2 separate regions of the Homo sapiens genome follow, and region 2 is linked to region 1. Evidence: promoter capture Hi-C in 16 types of primary human blood cells and fetal thymus (Javierre and others, 2016). All regions are on one chromosome and are shown on one strand. The core of a region is centred on a gene start or on the middle of the fragment in contact, and the rest is flanking DNA. Distances in the headings are between cores, read along the strand shown. Region 1 holds the start of MALT1 (MALT1 paracaspase). Region 2 has its middle 57 kb from the start of SEC11C.

Region 1 (3,211 bases), core at 382-2,881:
ATGTGTACAAATAATTATACTGTAAGACAAATCTTTGTCATTTGAGAAGTTCAAAAAACTGCTAAGGGGTTCAAAGGCAGGCCAAAGTTACAACAATGGTATAAAGTAATGGTTCTAAGTGGGGTCTGGGAACCCCTAGTGCAGTTCCTGAGACCCTTTCGCGGGGTCCACAAGGTCATAAAGATTTTTCATAACAATATTAAGACTTTATTTAGCTTTTTCATTCATTCTTTCAGGAGTGGACACTGCAGTTTCCAGCGTTCTGTGACCTGTAATAGTGCGACAGACTGAATGCAGAAGCACATAAACGAATCCAGCTCTGTGATTAAGCCAAGACATTAAAGAGATCTTCAAAATGAAAACCAATGCCACTTCTCTAATAGACTTTTTTGTTTTGGAAAATTTGTTTTTCCACGAAAGTATTATTTCTGTTACCATATAATGGGTTATTCTTTTTAAATAAATTAATATTTTTTAAATGTCTTAGCTTTAATTTCAAAGGTGGTAAATATCAGTATGTATTACATGTATGTATTATCTCTAACCCACATAAGAGCTCTCTGGGGTCCTCAATAATTCTTAAGAGGGTAAAGGAGTCTCGAGACCAAAACTTCAGGAACCCTAATACAGCCATTCCAAACCTAACAAGGAAAATAGTTTTACTTCGAGTTTCATGTTCATGGTGAAGTCAAGAAGAGAACGTGGTAACCTGGTTTGATGGAGGGAGATGATGAGTTCGGCGTCAGTCTTTCCCAATACCTTGCAAAATGTTCATGAATTCCTGCACCCCACCCTCTGCATTCATCACCTCGCCTGCGCTTCTTCCCAGCCTTCCTTAGGTCTCCCAGAGCAGTGTCCACATCCCTTTCTTTTGCATTTTAAGTCCTCTGGATGACTGCCCCATCCTAGGGGTCCCCTGACAGCTTTCCTTCTCTCACTATCCTCCGGGGTCAACCTCGACTTCTCCCTTTCACCAGGGGCGGGGGTGGGAACAGGGAGCGAGGCAGCCGCTGGGCCACTTTTGCCTCCACCCTCCAGAGCCCTGGGCCCCGCTCTCAAACCCCAGGCGTTCCGGGGAGCTGCTGAGTTCCGCTCCGCCTCAATGACCGAAGTCCTCCCCACCTCCGCTCACTCACGCCGGCGGCCCCCGCCGCGCTCAGCCCCACCGACAGCGCCCCCACCTCCCCACCGCAGCCCACCCCGCTCGACCCGCGCGCCCGGCCTGCCGCGGCCCTGAGCTCACCTGAGGCGGAGGCGCCCGCGACTCCCCGCCAGCTCCGCCAGTCTCCTCCAGCCCCGGCCCTCGGGCGCCTGATCCAGGAGCTCGCTGAGCCTCCGCAGCAGCGGCTCCCGCAGGCGGTTGAGGGTCGCGCCGGCCGGAGGGGCGAGCAGCGGCCCCGTGGGGGCGGCCGAGGGCGGCAGGGCCTGTAGCGGGTCCCCCAACAGCGACATGGCCCTCGCCGGCGACCCCGGACTGCCGGGGCTCCCGCCCGCCCCGTCACGGGCCTCGGCCCCGGGGCACCTTCCGCTCGCCTCCGAGCCGCGGAGGCAGGGGCGGAAGAACAAATCTGGCAGCGCGGCACGGCCCTCAGAGGAGGAAGCTCCGCTCCCCGCCCCAATTAGACAGGTTTGCCGAGGGGAGCCTGGCCTGCTGGCCGCGCCAGCCGCGCAAAGGGGCGGGGCACCCGGGGGGCGGGGCACGGAGCCTCGAGGGGCGGGACCTTGGGCCTCGAGGGGCGGGGCGGGGCTGCCTACTGCGTGCGTGCGGCTGCGCGCCTCCCTCGCCCTCCCCCGCGGTCCCGGGCTGGCCGTGGCGCGCGCTTCAAACCCAGCCCTCCCGAGCAGGAAAGGACGGGTGGGTGCAGCTGGAGGAGGAAGCGGTGGAGGAATTACGCCCCGGCAGCTCCTCTACGGCGGGGAAGCCTGCGGCGTCTGGGCTTCCTGAGACCGTGGGAGGAGGCCTGCGTACTCACGCCAGAGAGCGGGGCAAGCGGTTCTCAGTCGCCGGCTCCCGCCCGCAGTCCCCGGCGAGCGCTCTCCCCTGACTCAGGGACTTTCATGTGCCCGGCGACACACCAGCATCCTGCAGTGGGCAACCTCAGCGGACGCTTCCTCGTTTTAGGGTTAGATGTGTATGGCATTGCTAGAGGGAAGTAGTGCTGGAGATCCGGATACTTGAGTTGGAATTGGCCAAAATCTTTGCCTAGACTTTTAAACAATTACTACTTTGCAAACTGAGCTGTGGCATATTTAGGGCTAATCAGATCTTGGAAATGATTGTTTTTAGCAGGAATCATCTGGTTTACACCGCGTCAGACTGCCGCCCGCAATCTCCGTCATCAAAGCAGGCAACCCTGTAGAGGATGCCTTTCCCTGGAATGATCCGGAATGGACGACACCTGAGCTCTCTCTGCCAATCTTAGCAACATCCAAGGCCATTATCCCTTTGAAAACTATGGCTTCGTTTGGGACAAAAAGGAAGTAACTTACGAAATGTGACCAGTCAGGTAGTTCCCTACACGAGGCTTCCTGGCCCAATTTCTGTTGCCATTAGCTTTTCATCACCCAAGGCCGCAGGATTTTCTGACCAGTAATTTGGATACCTATATTCTTATACATGTTGGCGAGGTAGGTGCGCCATACAGTCTCCACCACATTCTAGCACAAGCAGTCATTAAACTTCACTCTAGCATAAGTTAAGAATTCAGACTGCAGTGAGATGGCTAAGAGCATGAAAGATCTGCTCGATTCAAGTGTTAGGAGCTTGAATAAGTTTCTTAATTTCTCTGCCTCATCTATTAACACAGGACTGACAATACAGTTTATATAGAGTTGTTGCCAGAATTAAAGGAGTTGATGTATGTGAAGCACTTAACTCGGTAACTGGCACATCGTAGATGACTCAGTAAATGCTATTACCCTTACACATACAAGTGCCGTTTCATACTCAGTTTGACTTGGCAAGCCTTTCCCAACCGCTTCAGGTGCCTTCCTGTTTTGTCCTCAATTACTGTACAAATATTTTCTGAGGATCTGTTACCTGCATGTGCCAATTATGGAAATAAAATCTTCTAGTCTTTACTGGAATCCTGCCTTTTAATTTAAATTCAACAGAGGTCTTCTAAATTTAGACTTCTTAGAAAAGTCTGCCATGTACAAAGCGTTGCTTATGCAACCTCTCGTGTGCATACGAGTTAAATGGGTGCCAGTG
Region 2 (3,211 bases), core at 398-2,897, 410 kb before region 1:
GGGAGGATCCAGCAGGACATTTGTCTGATGCATTGGGTCTTAAGGATCCAGGAATTTTGAAGTCCAGTCTGACCAGCAGTCCTTACCTTAGAAATTGAAAAATAAATAAAACATAAGATTCATTTCAAGTTCCTCAGAAAGAAAGCAGTGAGAATCACTGAAAAAAAAAATACTGTTTTCCATTGAAAATGATAGATTAGATTAGAAATATTAGATGTATTTCTTAAAGGATTAAGTGAAAACCTTACTTGGGCATTCTAAATTCCTTAGTAGGCTGGTCATTTAAAAGGAAGCAATGAAGGCTCTTTGACTCTTCTACTTCACAGTCTGACAAAATCTGCAGTTTTCCTAGGAGGCTTCCGGTGTGTTCAAGAAGGCAGCGGGGCCGACACTGGTCTCTTACGTGCTGCCCTCTCGTGGTCACCCAAACACATGCAGCTAAAGCTTTCTTCCGATGCCGCTCATCTATTTGTTCAAATCCACAGGAACAGAGCCCAGGATAAAGGCGGACAGGTGATGGAGGTTGGCAACAGCACAGCTGACTCCACGGGTCTGAAACTATTGCTATGGCTGGCACTTCGTCAATGTGTGGGGTTCAGAGGAGGTCAAAAAAAATCATAGAGGCAAGAAACAGTGATTATTCTTTAGACTTTGTTAAGAGGAAATTTGGAAAGAAAACGTGTGTGTGTGTGTGTGTGTGTGTGTGTGTGTGTGTGTGTGTGTGTGTGTGTGTTATGCATATGAACACAGAGGTGGAGAGGGAGACAAACAGAGGAGAGATAATCTGATAGAGAGATTTTGTTCCAGTGCACTGCCCACGTGGTCTGGTAGGAAGAGCAGGTGGGTGAACTCGGGCAGGAGACAACACAGTTGCCTCACTACAAAATGATGTCCTTGAATAGATTATCTCTAAAGTCCCTTCCCATCCCAATTACGATTCTACTTAAAACAAAACAGAAAAGAAACCCCTTTCTTTCCCCGTGCTCATTTCACGCACCCGAGCTGATGGTCCTGGCTGCCCTTCTGCCTGCCTGCTCTCTTGCTTCTCTTTCCCTGTTTTCTAACAAAGAACTCCTTATGCCGTCACTTTGGCTTACATACATGCTGCCTTCTTTTTGAATCCATGGGATTTTCAATATGATGTACTAAAAGTTTCATTTTTCTTTTTGAGTCTCAGTCAAGGGTATTCCAATTGTCTTGTCTCTGAATTTTTTTTCCTTCTTTTCATGATCCCCTAAAACTTTCATGTGTATCTTACCCTGTTCTTTGTTGCTGGGAAAGATAAGTTCCTGGCCGAAAGCTGTCAGTGTCGGTCTTCAGCACAGAGCCTGTCTTTTAGGTGGGAAATACACCACGGTTATTCATTCCATTAATCTGCATATTGGCTTAGAGCGGCGATTCTCAAAGTGTGATCTGGGTACCCTCCAGGAGTTCCTGAAAGACTTCCAGGGAATCCATAAGGTCTACACTATTTTCAGAATAAAACCAAGATGCTTGCTTTTTTCCCTTCTCATTCCTTTATGAGTGAGTGTATGCTGGAGTTTTCCAGAAGCTACATGATATGTGATACTGCAACAGACTGACAGCAGTGGCGGATGTAAGATCAGCTATGTCTTCTATTTAGCCAGCTATTAAAGAGATTTCTGAAACTGTAGCACAATGACAGTCTTCTCGCTAGCATTTTTTGTTTTGAAAATATATGCCCTACCCTGAGCTTAAAAAAAAAATAAAAAAGAGGCCAGGCGCAGTGGGTCATACCTGTAATCCCAGCACTTTTGGGAGGCTGAGGCGGGCTGATCACCTGAGATCAGGAGTTCAAGACCAACCTGGCCAACATGGCAAAACCCTGTCTCCACTAAAAATATAAAAATTAGCCGGGTGTGGTGGCTCACACCTGTAATCCCAGCACTTTAGGAGGCCAAGGTGGGCAGATCACAAGGTCAGGAGTTTGAGACCAGCCTGACCAATATGGCGAAGCCCCGTCTCTACTAAAAATACAAAAACTAGCCAGGTGTGGTGGCACGTGACTGTAATCCCAGCTACTTGGGAGGCTGAAGCAGGAGAATTGCTTGAACCCAGGAGGTGGAGGTTGCAGTGAGCCGAGATTGCTCCACTGCACTCCAGCCTGGGCAATAGAGGGAGACTCTGTCTCAAAAAATATATATATATAAAAATTAGCTGGGCATGGTGGCATGTGCCTGTAATCCCAGCTACTCGGGAGGCTGAGACATGAGAATCGCTTGAACCCAGGAGATGGAGGTTGTAGTGAGCCAAGATTGCACCACTGCACTCCAGCCTGGGCAACAGAGCAAGACTCTGTCTCAAAATTAATAACTGGTATTTTCCATAAAAATATGTTAGCATGAAATGTATAATTTATTATATTTAAAGGAATTTATAAATATTATCCCATTTTTTCCATTTCTAATTTCTAGTATAGTAAATATCAATAGATATATTCCACATAATAAACAAAGGCTCTTCGGGTCCCAGATAATGTTGAAGATATAAAGAAATCTCGAGTCCAAATAGTTTCAGAATCGCTGACGTAGAGGAACCATGGGATTGTGGGGTGACTCCGAAGCTCAGTTTGCACACGTATCCTGGGCCCCGATGTAACATGAGGAGAGATTCGGGGTGGGTGCCAGTTCACTAGTTACCTGATTTTAAAGAGTGGAGGAAGGGGGTTAGGTTCAACACCGTTCCCCAGGAAGCACCTATTCTCAGGTTGCCTTCAACTTTCCCTGAGCCCAGGAAAAGCAAAGCTCCTTTGCGTTGCACCTGTGCTGAGCCAAAAGGGGCGGTGGCCCCAGCTGAACATATGCTGCTGTGTGATGCTAGGCAAGCTTGTTTCCCTGGTGCCACTGCAGAGTCTGTGTCCGAAGATTCTAATAGGCTGGTCCTTGCAGCAGCTGTGGGTTCCATAAAGGGACTGGCCTGAAACAGATCCCCCCGGCTTCTCACTGCTGTACTGTAGAAACCAGAAAGCTAAATGTTACATTTTTTAAAAACCCATTTGCAGCTAGGGCACTGTTATCAGATACTCTAAATTGTGTTCCAGAAAAGCACGTAGAAACTCTAACCCCAGCCAGGCACGGTGGCTCACACCTGTAATCCCAGCACTTTGGGAGGCCGAGGTGGGTAATCACGAGGTCAGGAGTTCCAGATCAGCCTGAACAACATGGTGAAACCCCGTCTCTACTAAAAATGC

What was found. The method cuts DNA at HindIII sites, captures the fragments that hold promoters and counts their contacts. A CHiCAGO score of 5 or more calls a contact.
Region 2: a contact is called between a fragment that was not itself captured here and the fragment with the promoter of MALT1 in region 1, in 2 of 17 cell types (total CD4 T cells and naive B cells). The highest score is 7.2, in total CD4 T cells.

Annotation. Positions count from the first base shown.
Region 1 is chr18:58,669,885-58,673,095 of GRCh38, reverse strand. It overlaps MALT1 (MALT1 paracaspase), which reads right to left and starts at 1,631. Exons shown (of 17, transcript NM_006785.4): 1 at 1,244-1,631. The coding sequence starts at 1,452. It overlaps MALT1-AS1 (MALT1 antisense RNA 1), which reads left to right and starts at 1,223. Exons shown (of 2, transcript NR_164150.1): 1 at 1,223-1,627; 2 at 2,288-3,087. LOC105372146 (a long non-coding RNA gene) reads left to right here. Exons shown (of 4, transcript XR_935537.3): 4 at 237-483. RefSeq lists a silencer at 1,103-1,892 and an enhancer at 2,053-2,312. The HindIII fragment of the contact is 13,202 bases long and covers 1-3,211 here.
Region 2 is chr18:59,081,566-59,084,776 of GRCh38, reverse strand. No RefSeq gene overlaps it. Among named protein-coding and RNA genes, the nearest start is that of SEC11C, 57 kb to the left of the region's middle. The HindIII fragment of the contact is 2,402 bases long and covers 447-2,848 here.